Linked DNA regions of Homo sapiens: region 2 is linked to region 1. The links are contacts of gene promoters, found by promoter capture Hi-C in blood cells and fetal thymus (Javierre and others, 2016). All regions are on one chromosome and are shown on one strand. The core of a region is centred on a gene start or on the middle of the fragment in contact, and the rest is flanking DNA. Distances in the headings are between cores, read along the strand shown. Region 1 holds the start of COX6A2 (cytochrome c oxidase subunit 6A2). Region 2 overlaps ITGAM (integrin subunit alpha M).

Region 1 (4,924 bases), core at 1,749-4,248:
GGCAGGGGTGTGTGTGTCAGTATCAGAAAAGAAGGCATAGATATATTGGTCATATGACACAAAACAGTAGACATCCACTATCACATAGCCACTGGCCCCTCCCAAGTGCAGAGGGAGCTCAGAGCCCCATTTATTTAGAGTCTATGTCCCTGTTGCCACTGGACCCCACCCCAATGCTGTCTGAGCTCCATCTCTCTGTACCTGTTCGTTCTAGCTAACCCATGTCCTGTATCACAGTTGTTTTTCCAGGACTATTCTAATTTCAAATACGCTGTCCCTAGGGCCCCCATAAACATTTATACTTAGTAGATCACATGTAATCGATCTTTGCTTTAGAAAATGTGGTCATGGTATGCAGCATCCCAGGAAGAGGGCACAAGAGAAACTGACCCTGAGTCATGCCTCCACCTCCTTCACCACCAACAGCTGAGATACTCTGAACAGAGGCTGAGATGCTGCCCTCCGGGGTTTATTTAGCACCTGGTGAGTTTGTTCTTCCCTCTGCCTAAAGTGGAGGAAAAATTAAACCTCTAGAAACTGAAAGTGTTGGCAGCAGCCAGGTTAAGAACTGTGTGAGTGAGAACTTACAGAAACAATGGTGAGTGCACAGCCTGGAAGAGACAGCTCTGCACACCCTCTAGAGAGGCAGGTAAGATGGTGACAAGCCCAGAAAAGCACAGACCACCTGAGCGGAGGTCTCTGGGTACCTGGGCAAGTGCACCTCGTGATGGTGACAGCAGCCCAGGACAGAAGTGGCCCTCCTCAGGGCGTTCTTGACATCCCAGCAAGAAAACCTCTCCACAGGAGCTCCCAAGCTGAGAACAAAGGGATGGGAATTCCCAGGGAATTGTTTGGCAGCAACCAGAAAAACTCTGAGGGGCCTTTTAGGGGAGAAAAGAAACCTAGAACCTTTTCTTCCTTTTTTCCTTCTTTTTTTTTTTCTTGAGAGAGTCTTACTCTGTCACCCAGGCTGAAGTGCAGTGGCACAATCTTGGCTCACTACAACCTCCACCTCCTGGGATCAAGCGATTCTCCTGCCTCAGCCTCCCGAGTAGCTGGGATTACAGGCACGGGCCACCACACCCAGCTAATTTTTGCATTTTTAGTAGAGATGGGGTTTCACCATGTTGGCCAGGCAGGACTCAAACTCTTGACCTCAAGTGATCCGCCCTCCTCATTCTCCCAAAAGTGCTGGGATTACAAGCGTGGGCCACTATGCCAGGCCTCTAGAACTTTGTCAAGTAAAAATACCTGTCTTCATGTCTGTTTTCTCCAGGAGCCATTATCTTATATACGTAGGGAGGGGGCTATGTGTAGAGGGAGATGCCAGGTATCTTTAACTGGAATAGGGCCCCATCTTCTCTGCAACAATGCCAAAGTCCAGCTGGGAAAAAAACTGTAGGAAGAATTCTATTATAGCTCAGTGAGAGCTCAGGAATAATTTTTGTAACACTGTATAACATTTGACTGCTCAAGGAGGTTATTTTTTTTAAAAATAGCAGCAGCTTAAAGTTGGATGGAACATACTGTTCAGTTTATTACCAATGAGAAACAGGTATAGAGCCCCTTCTTGAAAATATATCTTCCTCGTTTTTTTTATATATTAAATTCAGATTATATGTCTATATAATTCATTCTTCTTTTGTATATTAAGTTCATATTAGTACATCAGCCCTTGATCAAAGCTAGAAGCTTCCTATTGGATTGTAATTCTGAAAAGGCATTGTTGTAGGGTTAACCAAAGTAACAAGGTTCAAGCATTCATTACATACATATTTTTAGAACACCTCCTTCATGCCAAGGTCCCTGCCCGTTGCTGAGGACAGAACAGGCAGATGTCATCCCTGCCTGGTCTTGTGGCTTTCTTGTGACCTGCTTTGATAGAGGGTTCACACCAGCCCTGTCTAGGCTTGCTTTCTCCAAGTAGTCATATTTTTCAGATTGAAATAATGCACTTTGCAGTAGACACCTGTCAGGCTTGTGGCTGCCTGGAACCTTTTGAATACTCATCCTAGACCTGGAGATTTTCCCTACAATTCCTGCCTCCCTAAGGCAGAATCCAGAGCTCAGTTTCCCATCCCCTCCTGCAGCTGGGGGACCTAGGGGTTGCCAGTTGGTGCAATCACATAATTCTTTCAGAAAAGAGCGACCCAGGATACAGGTTTCATGAAGAATCTGTTTTCAAGAGGGGATGAGGGTGGAAAATTCTGGTTTTCCAGGGCAGCCTTAATGAAGCTTTTGGCATCCAGGGTCCAGCAGTGTGAGCTGTGGGGGTGTCACTGCAGCTGGCCAACGGAATGACTTGTTTATGACTGTGCAGACTGTAGGCATCTCTGGCTATATCAGACATAGTAAGCTACCTAAGATTCTCAATTACTTATCTTCTAAAACTAGTAAGAGTGAGTTCTGTTCTTTGCAAAGAACTGTGACTAATACATATACTGAACTACTGTTACCTGCCAAAATCCAGGTTGACACATTCCTACCTTACATAAACTTCATAAAAATGATGTAAGGGCCGTGTAGTGGCTCATGCCTGTAATCCCAGCACTGTGGGAGGCTGAGGCGGGAGGATCACGTGAGCTCAAGAGTTCCACACCAGCCTGGACAATATAGTGAGATCCCCGTCTCCAGTATTTAAAAAATCTTTTAAGGTACGAATTATTATACATTTTACAGCTGAAAACACTGAGACTCAAAAAGACACTTAATTCATTCTACAAATATTTATTAAAGCCCAACTGTGTGCCAGCCACCAGGCATAGAATAGGGAACAAAATAGTTTCCCTGCAACTATATAAAAAGAATGGCATATTGTACTTAAATGCCTCCTTGCCAAAATAAGAGGCACAGGACAACAGCTGTCTGGAGATGACCTCAAGCCAGTCAGGCCCCATTTTAAATATAGAAACCCCTAAGAATAGCCGCCAGTGCTCCAGACTCAACAGGTGATTGGCCCAGAGAGGGGAGGTGACCCCAGGCCCCAGGAAAGGGAGCGAGGACAGCGCTGGTTCCCGGCTCCCCGCACCATCATGGCTTTGCCTCTGAGGCCCCTGACCCGGGGCTTGGCCAGCGCTGCCAAAGGAGGCCACGGAGGAGCAGGAGGTGAGTGGGGAACGGGCGGATCCGGGGGCTCCCCTACCCTGCCCACCTGTTCACAGGCCCGCCGCCCCAGGACCGCCGCGCTCACCCCGCTCCGTCCGCAGCTCGTACCTGGCGTCTGCTGACCTTCGTGCTGGCGCTGCCCAGCGTGGCCCTCTGCACCTTCAACTCCTATCTCCACTCGGGCCACCGCCCGCGCCCCGAGTTCCGTCCCTACCAACACCTCCGCATCCGCACCAAGGTACGCGGGACGGGCGCGCGGGCGGCACGGGGGTGCTGCGGGGGCGGGGGGGGGTGCTGCGGGGGCGGGGGGGGGTGCTGCGGGGGGGGGGTCGCGCGGGGCGCGGACTCCGGACTCACGGCGCTCACGCGCGCTCCCTCCCCCGCTCTCTCCACAGCCCTACCCCTGGGGGGACGGCAACCACACTCTGTTCCACAATAGCCACGTGAACCCTCTGCCCACGGGCTACGAACACCCCTGAGGCCCCGGACGCCCCCGGACACAATAAAGGTGTGAAGCTTCGAGTCTGCGGCTCTGTGGGGAGGGCGGGGCCACGGGGAGCGCGCCCAGAGGCGCCCGCTCCGCGCATGCGCCCAGCTTGGTAAGCGCTCCTGCTCCGCGCATGCGCCTAGCGCGGTGGGCGCTCCACGTGCTTTTCCCACGCCGCTGATACGGAGGTGCTCGAGGGAGCCTCCTCCACTCACAGGTAGGCGATCCCAGCTCCCTGTCTCTCACCTGGTAATAATGAGGCCTCCCTCTCACACACACCTATTAATAATTAGGGCTCTAGGCTGTAATGGGCTTCCGCGTACACCGAATCCTCACAGTAACGCTGGGAGCAGGGTATAAATTTAGTTCACCTTCTCCCGAGGAAGACCTGAGATTCTTGGGAATTAAATGACTTGTCCAAGTTCCGGCAGCTCGGCAGAGCCCCCATGGGAGCCCAGGGCTGCAGATCCTGAAGTCCCACTTCTTGCCTGACACCTGAGCTGCTGGTGTCTGTGAATCCCAGCTCTCTGGATTTCAGACGGAGGCTCCACAGTCCTGTGTGTGAGGCCTTGGGACCTAATGCTGGATTTGGAATCTTTTGATAATTCTCTATAATCTTTCTTTCTTTTTTTTTTTTTTTTTTTGAGACGGAGTCTCGCTCTGTCGCCCAGGCCGGACTGCGGACTGCAGTGGTGCAATCTCGGCTCACTGCAAGCTCCGCTTCCCGGGTTCACGCCATTCTCCTGCCTCAGCCTCCTGAGTAGCTGGGACTACAGGCGCCCGCCACCGCGCCCGGCTAATTTTTTGTATTTTTAGTAGAGACGGGGTTTCACCTTGTTAGCCAGGATGGTCTCGATCTCCTGACCTCATGATCCACCCGCCTCGGCCTCCCAAAGTGCTGGGATTACAGGCGTGAGCCACCGCGCCCGGCCTATAATCTTTCTTAATGAGTCTTCTATATGGGAAATCACATGCTCCTAGCCTGGCTCTCCTGGCTTCTGAGTACCTCATTCAAGGGGGACAGGAGTTCAAATGAGCTCTGGACATTTCTTCACCTCCTAGGACAGCCTGCCCACTTACCATTACAGAGGAACCTGAAGTGTGTGAAGAAACCCATGACCAATGCATGCCTGCGTGCACGTGCATGCACATGCACACACACACACACACACACACACACACACACTCTTTGACCCTCTCCCCTGATACACACCTCTCAGCCCCATCAAGAAAAGATGACCTCAGGCTCCCATCACCATAGAAAGTGAAAAAACTTTTTCAATGCCCACAAATAGGTTCCCCCGACTATTCCCAGAGAGGCACTCAGGTCCC
Region 2 (4,924 bases), core at 1,129-3,628, 160 kb after region 1:
TATATATATATATATATAGTTAATTGGCCTTCAGGAAACCTCTCCCAGAGCACTGCACCAGCTCCCCAGCCCCTCTAGGACTCTCCAGTGCTTCTTGTACTTCTGTCCCAACCCCATCCTTGCCTCTACACCCACCTCAAAATCAGAGTGAACTTCCCAAAATGAGACATGGCGATATCTCACCACAGGCTGTAAAGCTGCCTTTGGCTCCCTGGCCTGAGCTGATCTTTGTAGCTTCCCTCCAGACACCTTTCCCTCACTTCCCCACTCCACTCCCACCTTTCACTCACAACTTGTCCTTTGATGAACACACCACGCACAGCCTCCCCACCTCTGCCGGTGGGGAAGCATCCTCTACCACCCCTGTCTGAACGGCTCCCTTCATCCATCAAAGCCCAGCTAAAAGTGTCTCCTCCTCCCTCCATCCTAAGGGAAAAGGGGAAGCTTACACCACTTTGCGGATGCCCGTGGCCGTGTGTGTCCGCCCAAGCAGCTGCGTTATTGGCTTCACCAGTGATCTTGGGTTAGGGTTGTTCTGGAACTCTTTGAAGGTAAAGTGAATCCGGAATTCTTCAGAGTACTGCATCAAAGAGAACTGCGGAGGGGGCGGCTGGTGTGATGCTGGAGAAGGTGCCCCCACCCCTCAGACATCTCCCAGCAAGCTCCACGAAGATCTTAAACACTCCACTCTCCAAATTCCTCCTCTGTGCTGCCCCTAATCCCCTGCCTCACCAGGACGGAGAGCTGCCAGCAGCTCCCATCTCTCCTCAATACTAGAACACGGCCAGCGGCCGGGAGCAGTGGCTCACACCTGTAATCCCAGCACTTTGGGAAGCCGAGGCGGGTGGATCACCTGAGGTCAGGAGTTTGAGACCAGCCTGGCCAAAATGGTGAAACCCCGTCTCTACTAAAAATACAAAAACTAGCCAGGCATGGTGGCATGCGCCTGTAATCCCCGCTACTCGGGAGGCTGAGGCAAGAGAATTGCTTGAACCCGGGAGGCGGAGGTTGCAGTGAGCCAAGATCACACCACTGCACTCCAGCCTGAGAGAAAGAGTGAGATTCTGTCTCAAAAAAATAAGAAATAAAAATGAAAATAGAACTCAGCCAGCAATGACACGTGGGCTTCATCTCCCATGCCAACCTTAACAATTAGAGCTGCCCGCTTTATAAAAGGCTGAAAGAATGCTGAGGCTGCATCCAACAGAGCAGAAAAGAGACTCAGGAAGGCAAACCATAATCGATCGTCAATTTGGCAATGTCTGCAGTTGAACTGGGAGGAGAACATGGTGGCCCGGTTGCCATGTATCTTCCAGCCCCGTGTGGGCTCTTCCCTAACCTACCCCTGGGCCCTCACCAAGGTTTTGGACTTTTTTAATTGCTCCATCACAGTTGAGACAAACTCCTTCATCCGCCGAAAGTCATGTGGGATGATGCTACCAGAGCCATCAATCAAGAAGGCAATGTCACTATCCTCTTGAGGACACCCTGGGGAAGGGGAAAAGAGTATGAATCAAGTAATTTGACACTTGGTGTTTTGGGTTTTTTTGCATGTCAGCCCTCTGCTGAACAATGAGAATATAGGACCCCGTCTCTATAAAAAATATAGATGTTAAATATATATATAAATTATGTATAATATATATATAATTTTTAACGTGTGTGTATATATATATATGTATACACACGTTAAAAACATATATATATATATATATATATATATATATATATATATATATATACACACACACACGTTAAAAATTAGTCAGGCATGTTGGCACATGCCTGTAGTCCCAGCTACTCAGGAGGCTGAGGGTGGGGGATCACTTCAGCCCAAAAGGTTGAGGCTTCAGTGAGCTATGATCACGCCATTGCACTCCAGCCTGGGCCACAGAGAAAGACCCTGTCTCTTAAAAATAAATAAATAAGTAAATAAACAAGGACAAAGTGGTATGGAAAATTTTCGTTAATTCTGCCCAAGGGAATCAGGGAATGTGGTGATGTTTGACTGAATCTTGAAGAACAGGAAATAATTTGCCCAGCTGGGCGAGGTGGCTCACACCTGTAATCCCAGCACTTTGGGAGGCTGAGGCAGGTGGATCACTTGAGATCAGGAGTTTGAGACCAGCCTGGCTGACATGGTGAAACCCTATCTCTATTAAAAATACAAAAAGTAGCTGAGATCGCACCACTGCACTCCAGCCTGGGTCACAGAGCAAGACTTCGAAGAAAAGGAAGAAAGGAAGAAAAAAAGGAAAGGAAAGGAAAGGAAAGGAAAGGAAAGGAAAGGAAAGGAAAGGAAAGCAAAGGAGGAAGGAAGGAAGGAAGGAAGGAAGGATTTGCCAGATATACAAAAGGAGTAGATTCTAGAAAAGGGAAGGGCACACACATATAAAGTGATGTGGAATGTGCTCCTCTGCCTTCTGCCCCATCCCCAAATCCACTTTCTACCCATTGCCGCTCAGCTCTGTGGCCTGGGAGGTCAACCTGCAGGGACCCCATCACCAGGACTCTGTTGCCCTCTGGATTCCCATTGGATTTGGCAGATGAGGGGGCTCAACAGAAGACTAGAGGGAGGAGGGCAGTGAGGTCCGGGTGTTCTCCCATTGAGGTTGTTTGGGGACAGCTATGTCCTTCACAAAAGACCAACTGTTCCTCAGAAGGAAGCCAGCTCCACATGACTCTCTCCAGACCCTGGTGAGCTCTCCCTCTCCTCAACCCATAAACCCAGGGGTGGCAACAGACCTGCTTGCCCAGGGCTTGGAAAGTCCCTGATGGCTCCCTTAGGCCTGTCACAGCTTTATAATTACTCCCTTTATAAATAAACCCCCCTCTTTGTAAATAAATCTTACTGAAACCGCCTTTGCAAAATTATGACTGAGACAGTGAAAGAGATCTAACTTAACTGATTCCATCTTGCTTCTAACCTCCAAGCTGTCCGTGTTCATTCCTGGGTGTAGGCTGAGCTAACTTTGGGAGACACTTAGTTTATAGTTTATAGTTTATAGTTTAAACAAAGATCGTAACAGCCCTTTCCCAAAGCAGACCTCCTTCTTACCTGGGGACTAGATTGCCTTTGTAGGACTAACGTTAGCCACAAGATGAGAAATTATGATTTAGGAGTCATGCAGCTGGAGGCTACAAGATTCTGACCCTCCCTAAACTGCTCCTAAAATCAGTGCTTGAGATATTTTGCAGACCTTGCACTTGATGGATCAGCTGGCACTGCCCAGATCAATAAACTGGTTCATCCGATCTTGCTGCCCCCACCCAGGAACCAACTGAACGCAAGAAGACAGCTCCGACTCCCGATGATTTCATCCCTGATCAATCAGCACTCCCAGCTCACTGGCTTCCCCCGCGACCTACCAAGTTATCCTCAAAAACTCTGCCCCCAAATGCTCGAGGAGACTGATTCGAGTGATAATAAAACTCTGGTCCCCTGCATAGCTGGCTCTGTGTGAATTATTCTTTCTCTATCGCAATTCTGCTGTCTTGATGAATCGGCTCTGTCTAGGCAGCAAGCAAGGTGAACCCCTTGGGCAGTTACATTACTGGAATGTGCTTTTGGTCCCAGTTGAGACTCCTACTGATATATGGGACAAGGGCCTCAAAAGGATTCTGGCAGAATCCAGGAATGCCGTTTGATGGAAACAGCACTACAGGGACAAACGTATGTGACGGCGATGGAGACACAGCGGTGGCATCAAGCAAAGAGCAGCGGGCAAGGGCCTTTCTACTCCAATAAGGAGCTCGACTTTATCTGTAGGCAATGGGGAGCCACAGAAGGTTCTTAGAAAAGGAAGTGAGATGATTTGTTTTGTATTTTAGAAAGACTGGCAGGGCACAGTGGCTCATGCCTGTAACCCCAGCACTTTGGGAGGCCTCCTGAATAGCTAAGACCACAGGCACACGCCACCATGCCTGGCTAATTGCATTTTTTGTAGAGATGGGGTCTCATTATGTTGTCTAGGCTGGTCCCAAACTCCTGGCCTCAAACAATCCTCCTGCCTTGACCTCCCAAAGTGCTGGAATTACAGGTGTGAGCTACCGCACCCTTTCGAATTTTGAACCAAGTGTATGTATTATATATTTTTTAATAAATGAAAACTTTTTTAAAGAAGTAGTCTTGAACCCTGAGAGTGAGGTCTAAAGAGGGAGAGGTAGAAGTGTTAGCTGAAGCCACAGAACTGGGTGATTTCAGGAAAGAAGAACACGTGGGTGAAAAGAGAACCCAGAACCCAGTGCCCCTAGGTGGAGAGGGAAGCTGGAGGCCAGCCGGGGGTGAAGAGAATGCACTCAGGAAGCTTGGGTGGTGAGGGTGAGGAGAGATGGCAGGAGATGAGGAGGAGACTGGAAGAGAGAAGATTGTTTTCATGGCTATCGATTGTGGTGGTTGATTGCTTTTCAGATACAGATAGAATGAAGAGTGTTTACAGCCAGAGGAAGGGGGAAGTTAATTGTCCTAGAGAGAAAACAAGTGATTCAAGAGATGCTGGGCCAGGCGCAGTGGCTCACACCTGTGATCCCAGCACTGTGGGAGGCTGAGGTGGGAAGATCTCTTGAGCCCAGGAATTCGAGACCAGCCTGGGCAACAAGGTGAAACCCCATCTCTACAAAAAATACAAAAATCAGTATATGCGCACCTGTGATCCCAGCTACTCTGGAGGCGGAGGCACAAGAATTTCTTGAGCACAGGAGGCAGAGGCTGCAGTGAGCCGAGATTGTGCCACTGCACTCCAGCTTAGGTGACAGAGCAAGACCCTGTCTCCAAAAAAAAAAGAAAAAAGAAAGATAGGTGATCACCTTAGTTGGTGCATGAGAGACTCTCAAAAGCCCATATGGAAGAATTTAGTCATGGGACAGAGGAGAGACAGGTCTTCCTCTAAAACGAGTGAGTCACTGCCAGGAGTGCTGTCATTAT

The links. The method cuts DNA at HindIII sites, captures the fragments that hold promoters and counts their contacts. A CHiCAGO score of 5 or more calls a contact.
Region 2: a contact is called between a fragment that was not itself captured here and the fragment with the promoter of COX6A2 in region 1, in 1 of 17 cell types (M0 macrophages). The highest score is 6.4, in M0 macrophages.

Annotation. Positions count from the first base shown.
Region 1 is chr16:31,426,434-31,431,357 of GRCh38, reverse strand. It overlaps COX6A2 (cytochrome c oxidase subunit 6A2), which reads left to right and starts at 2,998. Exons shown (of 3, transcript NM_005205.4): 1 at 2,998-3,105; 2 at 3,207-3,343; 3 at 3,501-3,627. The coding sequence starts at 3,033. The coding sequence ends at 3,584. It overlaps ITGAD (integrin subunit alpha D), which reads right to left. Exons shown (of 30, transcript NM_005353.3): 30 at 4,853-4,924. The HindIII fragment of the contact is 1,386 bases long and covers 2,238-3,623 here.
Region 2 is chr16:31,267,518-31,272,441 of GRCh38, reverse strand. It overlaps ITGAM (integrin subunit alpha M), which reads right to left. Exons shown (of 30, transcript NM_000632.4): 6 at 1,358-1,488; 7 at 450-595. Among named protein-coding and RNA genes, the nearest start is that of ITGAM, 10 kb to the right of the region's middle. RefSeq lists enhancers at 109-634, 635-1,160. The HindIII fragment of the contact is 3,863 bases long and covers 447-4,309 here.